Linked DNA regions of Homo sapiens: regions 2, 3, 4 and 5 are each linked to region 1. The links are contacts of gene promoters, found by promoter capture Hi-C in blood cells and fetal thymus (Javierre and others, 2016). All regions are on one chromosome and are shown on one strand. Each heading gives the region's core, a stretch centred on a gene start or on the middle of the fragment in contact. The rest is flanking DNA. Distances are from core to core; before and after follow the strand shown. Region 1 holds the start of LONRF1 (LON peptidase N-terminal domain and ring finger 1). Region 2 overlaps XKR6 (XK related 6). Region 3 overlaps FAM167A (family with sequence similarity 167 member A). Region 4 overlaps XKR6 (XK related 6). Region 5 holds the start of LINC00529 (long intergenic non-protein coding RNA 529).

The links. Contacts are between HindIII fragments. The CHiCAGO score rates a contact against its expected background, and 5 or more counts as called.
Region 2: a contact is called between a fragment that was not itself captured here and the fragment with the promoter of LONRF1 in region 1, in 1 of 17 cell types (naive CD8 T cells). The highest score is 5.5, in naive CD8 T cells.
Region 3: a contact is called between a fragment that was not itself captured here and the fragment with the promoter of LONRF1 in region 1, in 1 of 17 cell types (monocytes). The highest score is 5.1, in monocytes.
Region 4: a fragment that was not itself captured here is called in contact with the fragment with the promoter of LONRF1 in region 1 in 1 of 17 cell types (naive CD8 T cells); the score reaches 5.3 in naive CD8 T cells.
Region 5: a contact is called between a fragment that was not itself captured here and the fragment with the promoter of LONRF1 in region 1, in 1 of 17 cell types (total CD4 T cells). The highest score is 6.4, in total CD4 T cells.

Annotation. Positions count from the first base shown.
Region 1 is chr8:12,754,150-12,756,849 of GRCh38, forward strand. LONRF1 (LON peptidase N-terminal domain and ring finger 1) reads right to left here and starts at 1,377. Exons shown (of 12, transcript NM_152271.5): 1 at 551-1,377. The coding sequence starts at 1,271. RefSeq lists silencers at 1-15, 156-695, 592-782, 786-1,125, 1,206-1,875 and 1 more and an enhancer at 851-1,670. The HindIII fragment of the contact is 11,195 bases long and covers 1-2,700 here.
Region 2 is chr8:11,011,019-11,013,718 of GRCh38, forward strand. All of the region lies in intron 1 of XKR6 (XK related 6), which reads right to left. Among named protein-coding and RNA genes, the nearest start is that of MIR598, 23 kb to the right of the region's middle. The HindIII fragment of the contact is 925 bases long and covers 917-1,841 here.
Region 3 is chr8:11,455,026-11,457,725 of GRCh38, forward strand. All of the region lies in intron 1 of FAM167A (family with sequence similarity 167 member A), which reads right to left. Among named protein-coding and RNA genes, the nearest start is that of FAM167A, 10 kb to the right of the region's middle. RefSeq lists silencers at 1,783-1,882, 2,033-2,092. The HindIII fragment of the contact is 4,689 bases long and covers 1-2,700 here.
Region 4 is chr8:11,188,845-11,191,544 of GRCh38, forward strand. The region is part of intron 1 of XKR6 (XK related 6); the gene reads right to left. Among named protein-coding and RNA genes, the nearest start is that of XKR6, 12 kb to the right of the region's middle. The HindIII fragment of the contact is 1,774 bases long and covers 501-2,274 here.
Region 5 is chr8:11,281,731-11,284,430 of GRCh38, forward strand. It overlaps LINC00529 (long intergenic non-protein coding RNA 529), which reads right to left and starts at 2,301. Exons shown (of 5, transcript NR_170283.1): 1 at 2,121-2,301. RefSeq lists enhancers at 2,055-2,144, 2,235-2,294, 2,570-2,700. The HindIII fragment of the contact is 2,523 bases long and covers 61-2,583 here.

The DNA of each region.
Region 1 (2,700 bases), core at 127-2,626:
CTTATGCAATTCTGCCCTCCCGCGGTTCCCAATTGTCCCGGTGACTTTTGTGGGTGAGGAAGGGAGACGCCGCCTGCCCGGCCTAGTTGCCCTCGCGGGGGATTCTCTCCCCGCCCCGGCAGTCGTTTCCCCGCGGCGGGCCCGGCCCGAGAGCCAATTCCCGGAAAGCGCGCGGCAGGAAGCGAGCGGCCGCTCGGGATAGCCCAGCTACCACCCATCCCGCGCCGGGGCGGCCTCGGTCCAGGTCACCCACTCCGCGCCGGGAGCGCGCGCCCGACAGCCAGGCCGCGGCCGAGGGAACCCCGCGCCGAGCGCCCCTCCCCGCGCCGCGTCACAGTCGGCTCCCAGGGCGATCCCCATTATGACCGAAGCACCCCGGGGCGCCGCCCCCTCCCACACCCCCCAGCACCCCGAGACCCGACACGCCAGCGGCCCAGCGGCCCCGGGGAAGCAGAGGAGACTCTCGGGGCGCAGACAAGCTCCGGGTCCCCGGCCCTCGGGGCCAGGAGGGTGCGGTCGGCCCGGCCCCGCCGCATCCCCGCGCGGTCACCTGCTCGCAGCGCCTCGCAGGCGGCGGCCAGGGCCTCCCGGTAGCGCCCCTGGTGCAGTAGCTCCCCGAGCCTGCCGGCCGCCCGGGCCCGCTCGCGCTGGCCCGGAAACCACTTCTCGGCCAGGTGGTTGAGGACGACGCTGGTTCTGAAGTCTGAAGCGGCGATGGCGGCGGCCAGAGGCGGCGGCCGCGGGGCGGTCCCTTCAGCATCAGTGGCACTGGCGGTGGCGGGCGGCAGCCGGTCCCGGCAGAGGCGGCAGCGGGCGCGGAGTTCCCTCCGCAGGCAGCGGCGGCAGTAGCTGTGGCCACAGGGCACGGTCACCGGCTCGCTCAGGAAGCCCCGGCAGCCCAGGCATCTGAGGAGCCCGCCGGCGCCGCCGTCAGCGCCTGCAACCGGGGCCGCGCTCCAGCCCAGCCCGTGGCGGAGCCGGTAGTTGAACACCAGGCAGTCCACCAGGGCGCCCAGGCACTCGGGCCTGGCCGGGGCCCCGCGGCGCAGCGCCGCCGCGAACGCCTCCAGCGCGCCCTTCAGGTGGCCGCCCAGCGCCAGCAGCTCCCCGCGGCGGAGCAGCAGCTCCCAGCGCTCCGACTCCGCGGCCGCGCGCTCCAGCCGATGGCCGCTGCCGCCGCCCACTTCCCAGAACCGGCCTCGGCCCTGCGGCGCTGGGGCCATCTCCCGACTCCCTCCTGGGGAGGTCCTCGCCACCGCCGGAGAGGACATGGCCCGCGGAGGGCTGCGCCGCCGCCGCCCGCCGCCACGGTCCCGGAGCCTCCCGGGCGCGCGGCTCCGCACGCGGCCCGCGAGCAGGGGGGCGTGGCGCGCGGACACGGCGGGGCTGCGCGCGCCCGGGAAGCCCCGAGGGCGGGGCCTGGCGAGGGCGGGGCCGGGCTCGGCGACGGCGCCCGGGACTCCCCCACGCCGCCCGCGGCCGCGCTCCCGAGGAGCCAAGCGCTGGGCCCCGCCCCTTCCGAGCCCCCTCCGGGTGGGGGACGCAGGTCGGATGATTCCTCCGTCGGAGATCTAATTGGCTTCTCCGGAAAGGAGGGCTCGGCTCGTGACGGAACAAAGCCGGAAGGACCCCGGAGCTTCAGTCCCCGCTTGCCTGTCTGCCAACGCCGCCACCTGCGGTGGCCCTCGCCCCTGCCGGGGGTTGGGGGACGCTCCCCTGCCGCGCGGGACTCCGGGTCACCACCCCTCCCCCGACGCCCCCGCCCAGGCCGGACCTGCCCCAACTCCTGGCGGGCGGGGGTCTCCCCGCGTGGCCTCGCGCTTGTGCGGGTCTGCATTTTCATAGCTCTACGCCCATGTTCCAGGTGGGCGCGCCCAAGCAGGGGGCCTGGGAGCGCACCTTCGGCAGATGACTGGGACTCTTCGGTTCTAGAGGACTCAACTTTAAATATGAACAAAAAACCCACGTTCCTGGGGCGACTCCCTCCAGAGGGCAAGGAGTTTTTCCTGGTGCCAGGTGACTGCTTGCCCGTCTTGCTTAAAACTCATCGTGGGCCCACCTCGAGGGAGAAAGCCCACAGCTTCCTCAGGTGTCTCCACACCTCAAGCACTGCCTTACAGCTGGTTAAGGTCTATATTTGGCAGTTTTAAAAGAAAACACCAAGAAACATGTTTCACATGGCGGTCACCGTATTACTACAACCCAAGCTGGCTCTGCAGTTTTGCTGACAGAAGAAAATGATCGGGTTGATATATAATGGGTGCTATTTCCCTTAAACTTCACAGCAGCAAGTTTAAAGCTCTCAGCTGAAAATACAGATTTGATGATAGGGTATTAGATCGCTAATGTTGGAAGTCACTTAGGACTTTTAGTCCTTTTTCAAATGATTGGAAACACAGGGAAAGTTATTTGTCAAAAATCACACAGCTAATACAGATTTTAAGATCACGTCTATTCCACTACTACTACGTTAGACTAATATGTAATATTTAATAAAATATGTAATATTTCATAGAAATATATGAGATTTTCAAAGTAAAAGAAGTTGCTAATTGGAAAGTTCACCTGAGCATGCTATGTATGAAATTGGTAAACGTTTAATATTTCTCTTTATAAGGAACAGGCAATTAAGGCTAAAAAATGTTTTGAGTTCATGTGTTTTCACTACACAATCAACAAGTCGTGTAACGTCAGAAAAGA
Region 2 (2,700 bases), core at 129-2,628, 1.7 Mb before region 1:
AACCCAATCAGTCAAGATTATTATTATCCCTGTTTAACAGATGAGAAAGCTGAGGCTTGGGCCAGCTCAGTAACTTGCCTGAAGTCCTACAGCAGTCATCAGCAGAGCTGGGATTTGAACTTGGCTCCAAACTCATGCTCCTTTCCCTACATCACTGTCCCTGCTTCAAGGAGTCCCCACCTACAGGAATGGACTAGCACAGAAACAAGCATTTCAACAATACAGTGACATCAGTGCCATCACACAGCACGCAGGAGAGGCACAGGAACCACCAGAAAGGAAGCCCTTCTTGGGGTGGCCAGCAAGGCTTCCCGGGGGAGGTGGCATCCTGCTCTGCAGTGACAGAGTGGATAGGCTGTCACCAGAAGGGTACAGGTACACAGCGGACGAGGCTGGAAAGCAGGTGAGCACCAGGCTGAGGAGGGTCCTGAACATTTTCCTTCATTTTTTATTTGTTCATTCATTCATTCAACAAATATTTACAGAGTTTCTTCTAAGTGCCACGTCTATTCCAGACACTAAGAAAACAGCAGAGAAGAAACAGGACAAAAACCTCTGGCTATGTGGAACTTAATCTAACACGAAAGAGACAGCAAACAAATAGGTAAGTAATAGAGATGGCAATAAGTGTTGCAGAGAAGGATAGAGCAGGGAAAGGGACAGGGAATGCCTGGGGACAGAGGCTGCGATGCGGGAAGGCCTCAAAAGATGTTTGAGTAAAGAGCTGAAGGAGGAAGGGAACTGGTTGTGGGAGTGACAGGAGAAGAATATTTCAGGCAGAAGCCATTGAGCTAAGAGCTGGGACTTGCTTCTGGGTCCACTGCAGGGCAGCACATGGCACTGGGGAGGGGGATAGCATGAGGGAGGGAGGCCAGTGCAGTGTGGCAGCTCAGGTGTGCACCTGCTGGAAGCCACAAGCTTGGAGATGGTGCAGGAGGTGGCAGGGAACAAATGAGCCAAAATGCTTCCACAGGTGGGGTGTCCACATGTCTGTGACAGGAGCCCTGAGCTATTCTCAGCCCCACTAAGGACTCTGAAGAGGAGAATTTGGGACACAACAGGCAGGGCCTCGCAGTCCCCATCTAAGCAGATGGAGGAGTCCGCCTACCTCAACTGTGCCCAGGGCCAGCACTGCAGAAGCTACCACTCATCTGTCATTCAGGTCACAGGACCCCACCCCACTCCCCAGCCCTGACAGCCAGCATGGGGACAGAAGGGGCAGTAATGAACCCCCAAGCCCCTTTGGGACCTCAGCTGCTAGGGAACTGCTATGCAGATAAATTTAACCTGGCAAGTTACCTAACCTTTCTGGCTCTCCATTTCTTATTTGTAAAATGGGGATAATGACAGCACCTATATCTTAAGAAAAACTGAATGAGTTAATACATGTAAAGTGTTCATAACACCATTTGCATGTGGCAGGAGTTCAATAACTGTTAGTATCTATCATTGTGAGTGTAGTTGTTACGGCTGCTATTATCATCACCATCACCATCACCATCGACAGCAGTCCCTGGCTACATCCCTAGTCTACCCAGACATTTCCAGTACCATGGGGGAGGAAAAGAGCTGGGAAATGTAAACTATAGAAAAAGTGCCCCCCTCACCTCCCCCTAGCTTGCAGGCCCCCTCCACTGTCCTCTCCTTTTCCTCCAATCTGCATCCCCTCCTTTTTTCTGGGCTAATCTTGTTTTAATCTTTTCTTTGGATTCATCCTGGCCCCGATGTAACACATCCAGAAGTACACTAACAGCTCATTAACTGCCACAAACTAATACATTTTATCCCATGTCAGGCCATGTCTAATCAATGGCCATAATAAATGCAACTCCATTCTAACAAGCTTCTGCACTTTCAGGACACTTTTCGTCCAATGCCTTGCTGACATCCCAGATACCCCAAGGAAAAAGGTGGTGTCTTGCCAAGTTGTAGTATCTTGGCATGTAAGAGTCATGAGAGCTCTAACAAGATATTTGCCTGTAGACATGCCTTATCCTTCGGCTTGAAGATGAAACGAGGCCCAGGGAGGGGAAGTGAATTTCCCAAGGTCACACAGCAGGTTGGGTGCCAAGCTCAGATGAGAACAGGAGTTTCCAAGCTAACATGTATTAAGCCCTTAACACCATGAGGCATTTAATCCTCATAGTGACCCTAAGAGCAGATACCATCTATATCTTCATTGTACAGACAAGGGCACCATGGCTTGGACAGGTTGAAGGACTTGCCCATGGTCTCTAAGATGAGGCTGAGGAGGCTGACCTTCACCACCATGTGGTTTTCTAAAGGTTTCTCCTTTAAGGAGAGGAGAGGAGAGACAGGAGGAAGGTTTACTTTAGCCCATCACAAAGTGAGATCTAAGAACATGAACCCTGAGGGCCACAGAGGTGAAGCTTCAGGATGCCGGCTCTCATGTTTATTTGAGATATGTGTTAGGTTTCCCCAGCTGCCTCTAGGGACTCTGTCTGGGTCAGCCTGGCAGAGGTGGGTTCCAGATGGCAAAGGACTTAACTGTCTTTGTACCAGCAATTTGTTGCCACAAATTCATTGAGACACATAATATAATACGCCCCCTTTTTAAAAATTGCAGTGCCTAGATCTGGCCCCGGATCTGTGTTGCTGGTGGGAATGTCCCCATCCATTAATTGAGTGCTCCTAGAATTAGCGGGGATGGGAGGGCCTCCCCTAGCTGGTTTGGAAACC
Region 3 (2,700 bases), core at 88-2,587, 1.3 Mb before region 1:
TTGGTCAGAGCCGGTGTCAGGAGCCCTGACATGGAGATGACATCCTGCCGAGACCTGACCCCGGCCCCAGTGCTGCACGTGGCAGGGATGGGTTGCTGGGATATGTGTGTGTGCGTGTGTGTGTGTGTGACTGTGGTGGGGTTGTTGCCTTGCTGAGTGTGGGTGGTGGTTGCCTTGCTCTGTGTGTGTGTGTGACTGTGGTGGGGTTGTTGCCTTGCTGTGTGAGTGTGGGTGGTGGTTGCCTTGCTCTGTGTGTGTCTGGGGGGGGTGGTTACCCTCCTGGGTGTGTGTGAGTGTGGGGGGTGGTTGCCTTGCTGTGTATGAGTGTGAGGAGTGTGAGTGTGGGATGGTTGCCTTGCGTGAGTGTGATTGTGAGTGTGGGGGGTGGCTGCTCTGCTGGGTGTGTGTGAGTGTGGGGGGTGGCTGCTCTGCTGGGTATGTGTGAGTGTGGGGAGTGGTTGCCCTGATGGGTGTGTGAGTGTGAGTGTGTGGGGTGGTTGCCCTGCTGGGTGTGTGAGTCTGAGTGTGGGGGGTGGTTGCCTTGCTTTGAGTTTGAGTGTGGGATGGTTGCCTCACCTGAGTGTGAGTGTGCAGGGTGGTTGCTCTGCTGGGTGTGAGTGTTGGGGGTGGTTGCCTTGCTGTGTGTGAATGTGAGTGTGGGTGTGGGGGATGGTTGCTCTGCGGGGTGTATGAGTGTGTGAGTGTCGGGGGTGGTTGCCTTGCTGTGCATGAGTGTGAGTGTATTGGGGGTGGTTGCCCTGCTGGGGTTGTGTGAGTGTTGGGTGGTTGCCTTGCTGTGTATGAGTGTGAGTGTGAGGGTTGGTTGCCTTATGGGTATGAGTGTGAGTGTGGGGTGGTTGCCTTGCAGAGTGTGAGTGTGAGTGTGAGGGGTGGTTGCCCTGCTGGGTGTGCGTGAATGTGGGGTGGTTGCCTTGCTGTGAGTGAGTGTGGGGGGTGGTTGCCTTCTGGGTATGAGTGGGAGTGTAGGGTGGTTGCCCTGCTGGGTATGAGTGTGAGTGTGGGGTGGTTGCCTTGCTGTGTGTGAGTGTGAGTGTGGGAGGTGGTTGCCTTGCTGTGTGTGTGTGTGAATGTGGGAGGTGGTTGCCTTGCTGTGTGTGTGTGTGAATGTGGGGGGTGGTTGCCTTGCTGTGTGTGTGTGTGAATGTGGGGGGTGGTTGCCTTGCTGTGTGAGTGTGAGTGAGTGTGGGGGGTGGTTGCCTTGCTGTGTGTGTGAGTGTAAGGGTTGGTTGCCTTGTGGGTATCAGTGTGAGTGTGAGGTGGTTGCCCTGCTGGGTGTGTATGGGTGTGAGTGTGGGGTGGTTGCCCTGCTGGGTGTGTGTGTGGGGTGGTTGCCCTGCCTGGTGTGTGTGTGAGTGTGGGGGGTGGTTGCCTTGCTGGGTGTATGAGTGTGTGAGTGTGGGTACTTGCCCTGCTGTATGTGTGAGTGCTTGGGGGGTGGTTGCCCTGATGGGTGTGTGAGTGTGAGTGTGGGGGCTGGCTGCCCTGCTGGGTGTGTGAGTGTGAGTGTGGGGGGTGGTTGCATTGCTGGGTGGATGAGTGTGAGAGTGTGGGTAGCTGCCCTGCTAGGTGTGTGAATATACGAGTGTGAGGTGGTTGCTCTATTGGGTGTGTGCTCTGGGTATGGCTAGGGCTGAGTTAGTGACATGTGCAGAGCTGTTAGGGATGTAGGTGTGGCTGGGTAAGAGACATGGGCGGGGCTGGGTGAAGGACGTGGGTGGTGCTGGATTAGGGGAGTGCGGCTGGCTAAGGGAAGTGAGTGGGGCTGGGTTAGGGACGTGGGTGGGGCTGGGTTAGGGAAGTGGGCAGGGCTGAGTTAGGGAAGTGAGTTGGGCCCTGGGTTAGGGAAATGGGGGGATTGGGTTCGGGAAGTGGGTGGGGCTGGATTAGGGGTATGAGCGGGGCTGGGTTAGGGAAGTGGGCGGGGCTGGGTTAGGGATGTAGGTGGGGCTGGGTTAGGGAAGTGGGCGGGGCTGGGTTAGGGGTATGGGCGGGGCTGGGTTAAGGAAGTGGGTGGGGCTGGGTTGGGGAAGTGGGCGGGGCTGGGTTGGGGAAATGGGCGGGGCTGGGTTGGGGAAGTGGGCGGGGCTGGGTTAGGGGTGTGGGTGGGATCAGGGCTCCACAGGACAGCGCTCCTGGGGTTTTCTCCAAGCACCCCTGTGGTCTACCCTGCCGGGTAAGCATTCCCTCTGGCACATGTCCAGCCAGGACAGCACTAGCCTTCCCCCTTCCTGGAAGCCTCCTGTTTGCTGCCGGGGTTTCCCCTCCCTGCTGCACACCCTTGTGAGAACTCGGCAGTCTCTTCTGAAGGACATTGATGCTGTGCCACAATGTCATATGCTGGCTGCTTCATGCCTGGTTCTGCTTGAACCTCATCTCCACGCAAACCCCAGCCTGGGCCACAGGATGGAGCCCAGCGCTCGCCTTCCTGGTGCTTCCGGAGCTCATCACTTACTCCGTGATGTTTGTTGGTGTCTGTGTGTCCCACCCTTGAGGATGCCAGCTCCTAGCAGGCAGGGGCTTCCGAATTCTGTTCCTGACTGTGACCCCGGCACTCAGAGCAGTGCCCGGCACACAGCGGGTGCTCAGGAAACTTGCTGAGTAAGAGAGTGGGTACATGAATGAATGAAGAGGACTTTCTGGGCAGTCCATCTGGCCCTTTGTCCTTGTCTTTGGCCCTCA
Region 4 (2,700 bases), core at 138-2,637, 1.6 Mb before region 1:
GCCCTGAGCTTCTCCGTTACAAGGTTCTCGGATTTTCTCACCATCCCCATGTACATTTCTAGGTGGAGTGCAAAGGGAAGGTATTGAGTGTGCACAGATGCAGGGATGCTTGCTGATGTGCCACACTAATATCTTACCAGTAAACACCATCCAACTCCCCCTCATCCCCTCTCCTGGCTGTTCTCCCCACGAATCTATCAAGCAAAATGTAGGTAGGCCATTTTTCTTCTCTGCTCCCTTCTTTCCTGTCTCTAATGACACTCAGTATCTATTAGGTCATGTCTCCTCTTTCATTCACCAGTTTCTTTTTAGGAATCTTATCCTTGGCACTGATTACAACAAATATAACATTTCTGAATTTGAGACACAAAATTCACTGGATTGAAATATCAATTTCCAAGCATAATAAAATGCCTCTAACCTGGCACTTCTGAGCACCAATGGGGATCATCTGTGTTCATAATAATGACCTTGAAATACTTCAAACTTCCAAAGAAAGAAGCTTTTGGATCAAAGGAATCCTCAATTATATGTCATAATTTTAATGTTAAATGTCTTTCCTGCATTCTAAATCCAGGCATAATATATGGCAACAGCAACTCTTTGGTTAATACAGACTTTTTGCCAAGCCACTCCAGCTAAAAGGTCCATTCAGATTGTTTAAATACTGGTAATCCATTAGAATCACCTGAGGACCTTCTTTTATCCATTCCGCCCCTCTAAATCTAAGATGCCTAGTGATAAAAAGTTTACCAAAAACAAAAAACAAATTCCCAAGCAATTCTAACATATGCTCCTTCTCCTTGATAACTAACTCATAGATATTGGCAGAAATCAGCCTGTACAACTATGCTTCTCATCCCTGTCTGTGTACTGCTTAGGGAACTTTCTGAAAACCTAGATTTTTTAAATATATAGATTCTTGGGCCCATCCCAGATCTCTTGGATTACAGTCTCTTATGGTAGATCTCAAATATCTGGCTCCTCAAGTGATTCTGATGCACAGCCAAGGTTTGAAAACAGCTGCTTTGGACGGGTGCAGTGGCTCACGCCTGTAATCCCAGCACTTTGGGAGGCCAAGGAGGGCAGATCACCTGAGGTCAGCAGTTCGAGACCAGCCTGACCAACATGGTGAAACACTTTCTCTACTAAAAGTACAAAAATTAGACGGGTATGGTGGCTCATGCCTGTAATCCCAGCTACGTGGGAGGCTGAGGCAGAAGAATCACTTGAACTCAGGAGGCAGAGGTTGCAGTGAGCCGAGATCGCGCCACCGCACTCCAGCCTGGGCAACAAGAGTGAAACTGTCCCAAAAAAAAAGAAAGAAAGAAAAGAAAGAAAAGAAAGAAAGAAAGAAAGAAAAGAAAGAAAGAAAGAAAGAGAAAAGAAAAAAGAAAAAAGAAAAGAAAAGAAAGGAAAGGAAAAGAAAAGAAAGGAAAATAAAAGAAAAGAAAAGAAAACAGCTTCTTTATATCCTTGGGATACAACTGCTGTTCTCAATGTTTCCAACAGGTCAACAGAGAACCAACATATTTGAGTGCAGTATTTACATGGGACCTGTGGGGTATGCCAAACCTACATATTCCTTTGTGTAATGTGGAAGTCACGGGGTTGTAAGGTGCATCTACCCTGAGAAAGAGAATGGAGTGAGGTACTGAAAACTGTGTCCTAAGACACAGACCCAGAGGTATTAATATTACTCAGCTGTTTGATTCATCAGCAGTTACAATCAACTACAAGACTTACAAGCCTACCCTAAGCTCTGCAGAGTTTAATATTAACACATTAGACTAGACATCAGAGGTCTCAAAGAACCTCAGCTTATATACCAAGAGGCCCCAGAGGTTGAAGAATATCATTCCTCCATCTTCAATAAGCCAGACAACAACGTCCCAGAGGTAAAGCAAACTAATTCTGTCCCGCCCACAGCTCTGTGAGCTCTGGCTTCAAAAGTTTCCTCCACCAGTGCCATAGGTTACTTTATCACTTTAAGCTCACTTCTTCATCTGTAAAATGGGCACAAAATGCTTGTGAAAATTAAGTGAGACTATATATATAAACAGAATATTCAATATAGTTTCCTTTCCTCCTTAGTAATTTCTCTACGCCTCCTCCACTCTCCTTGGATTTTTGTCATACATTCTAACACACTAGCAGGGCTCACCTCAAGTTTACTGCAAGTATCACACACATGTCCTCTCCAACAACTAAACTAGGACATAGGGGGCCTTAGGAGGCACTTTATTGATCTTAGTTTCTCTAAAATGAACACGAAGCTTAAACTCATTAACTGTTTACTGGCAACCCATTCAACAGACCTGATAACTCAGCTCCTAGTTCTATTAATAGGACAGCAGTGGCTATCAAACCTTAAAGGTTAGAATTACCAGGGAGCCTGTTTAAAACACATACACCCACCAACAACAACTACTTAATAATTGATTCCGGCAAGGATTCCCAAAAGACACTAAAACCATAAGGTAAACGGTATTTAGGAAAAGAGACACTGATACTTTGCTAACATATGACCCCACAAGTTACCTACCGATTGCCAAGGGAAAAACTACCTTTATATAAAGAAATCTGGCAGTCGCAACCTTAACCAAGGGATAAAACTTAGCATCACTAATAGTGGGACAAAACACGTATGGGGCGCCTACTGATATGATGCCAACATGAAGAAAGCAGTACTTCTGACAA
Region 5 (2,700 bases), core at 72-2,571, 1.5 Mb before region 1:
CTGCTGCCAAGGAGTCTGTTTGAGTTTGTGTTGTGACGATACTTTGGGCAATGTCATCCAAGCTTTCCACAAAATCCTTGGAAAGTGCTGGTAACAGTATAGGGAAGTTGCAAGCCCGGTAACTCCCGTTCCTGCTCTCACTGTTATTCCTAGCCCAACAAAAAGGCGTTTGAGTTGGATTGCTCATTTGTGTCTGGCGGTTGCAGTTAAAGGTATAATGAGGGATTGGTTGTTGAGAGCTCTCCCTCTCTCTCTCTAAATATATATATATATATACACATATATATATAGTTTGTTTGTTTTGAGACAGTCTCCCTCTGTCACCCAGGCTGGAGCACAGTGGCTCAGTCTTGGCTCACTGCAACCTCTGTCTCCAGGGTTCAAGTGATTCTCCTGTCTCAGTCTCCAGAGTAGCTGGGATTACAGGTGTGCGCCACCATACCCGGCTAATTTTTTGTATTTTTAGTAGAAACAGGGTTTCAGCATGTTGGCCAGGCTGGTCTCGAACTCCTGACCTCAGGTGATCCGCCTGCCTCGGCCTCCCAAAGTGCTGGGATTATAGGCGTGAGAAACTGCGCCCGGCCGGGAGCTATATTGATTTCGGAGGCTAAAAACCAAGTGTACAGGTTCCAGTCCAATTGGCTGGTAAACACAGTAGGAACTGGTGCTGCACAGGGAAAAGGTTCCTTGTTTTTCAAGACAAAAATTGTTTTCCATGGTGAACATGTGGGTTAGCTTGTTGTTTTCACTTTCCCAAGTGGTTAAGTTTCCTACTAAAGTGGCCAAGCGAAAATGTCAACCCAGCTAGTGGGCCCACCTTCACAGTACTTAGACTGTGCATCCTTTAAAGTGCCCTTAACTAGGGATGGTTTCCATGAAAAGCATACAGGTTTTCTAAACGATGCAGTTTGGTTAATTGCATAGCTTACATGATTGTGTGAGGGTTAATTTCTGGGGTGTGGTTGCATTGAAGACTTCAAGTTCCCACGACCTGAACAGAATTTTGGCTTCTTTCAATACAAAGTGGCATCTGGAATTTTAGCTCTGTGTATGTTGATGTTGGGCCCCTAATGGGTTTCTGTGGGAATGCACCCTCAAAAAGGTTGCTCTGATTGGACTGGAGAGGGTTTACTGCTCATCCTGTCATTTTAACCTTTGTCATTTCCATACTTTTGAAGTCTTATAAGTCATCCAGATTCATTAATTCAAAGGGAGTTCCTCCCTGGTAGTTGGAATGATAGGTCATTTTTTTCAAGGACCCAAGATCGGGCTGGGATAGGGATGGCAGTGTATCTGGATGAAGATAGGAGATAAACAAAGCCAACAGTCCTTTGCCAGAGCTGAGCTGGTGGTATTTAACAGTCTTTGCATTAAATTTAAAGTTCTTAATAAATACCCAGAATCTATTAATTGCCAGAGGGGTAAAGTGAAGCTCTGTTGTAAAATAAAGCTGATTCCCTGTATGCGGTGTCCCTGTGTATACTGGGTGTATACTGGGTGTCCATTATGGAACAAAAAAAAAATACTTATTTGCTATTTTGTTCTATAGAATGGGAACTTCAGGGGGTGGATACCTGTGCTGTCAGGAATGCTAGTTATAAAAATGAATTAAAACACTTCATATATTACAAAGGAAGTGATTCCATCTATTTGGACGAAAGCAATTAAACTGCAAAAATATAAAAAATGGCAACTATTATTCAGTCTACAGTAACTATGCAACAAAGACACCAAGGAAAGTTGGTAGGCATTTACGTATCTCACTTAAAACAAGTCTATAAAGTGGTTTATTTTAAGAAGGGTACATTTTAAGAAGGACAAAATCAAAAGCATGGACAAGTGTTGGATGAGCTGATGAGGTTGTGGCAATTTACTTTGTGAATACTGTGAGAGTTTGTCCAACTCGCTGTGCTTAGGTACTAGATGGTGAGGATTTAAAAGGTCAATGAAGTCACAGCAGACCAGCACTCAAACATATTTCTCTTCTATTTCCTACTTTTGAATAAAAATGTCAGAAGTGGGCGGTGGGAAAGGAACAAGCAAAGGAGTAATTATTTGAATAAATTTTTGGCGAAACGTGGGTGTCTGACGGGGAGGCTGTGCGGTGGTGACCAACGCACCCATGCGCTGGGTTTCACAGATGCAGACTGAAGTCCAGGCTCTGCTGCAGATTAACGGGGTGGCCGCCAGCAAGTCAAGTGACTTGCTCTTCTGTGCACTGCATGTACTTGGGTTCCTCTCACAGGTATTCCTGTTTTTCCTCTTTCTTGCTCCAGGTTACACCTCGTGGCGCGGCGCTCTCGGAGAGCCTGTGGAGTGGCCCTGTGTCCCTCCCTGACCCCTGGAGGATTCCGTAAGGTCACAGTCACCGCCTCCATCCCCTACTTGCCATGTCTTCAGGGCTAATGCATAACAATTATCACAATTTACAGCAGCCCCACGCTCTGAAGAGCTTCTGGAGGGGATACTACTCAAGCGGAGGAAGGCAAGACAGGGACCTCCTCCCTCTTCCCGGACCTCTTCTGATAAGGAATATTTGTAGGTGGTTAAGAAAGGCAGCGGGAGGGCGTGAAGGCAAAGACAAGCTTTTTTTCTCGTAGGAACACACATCTTCTGGTCTGGCTGTGTTTCCGGAGGCATTTCCAGAGGACCTAGCGAGGACCAACTTCCGGCTGCGACTTCCGCGTCTTCCGAGTTTCG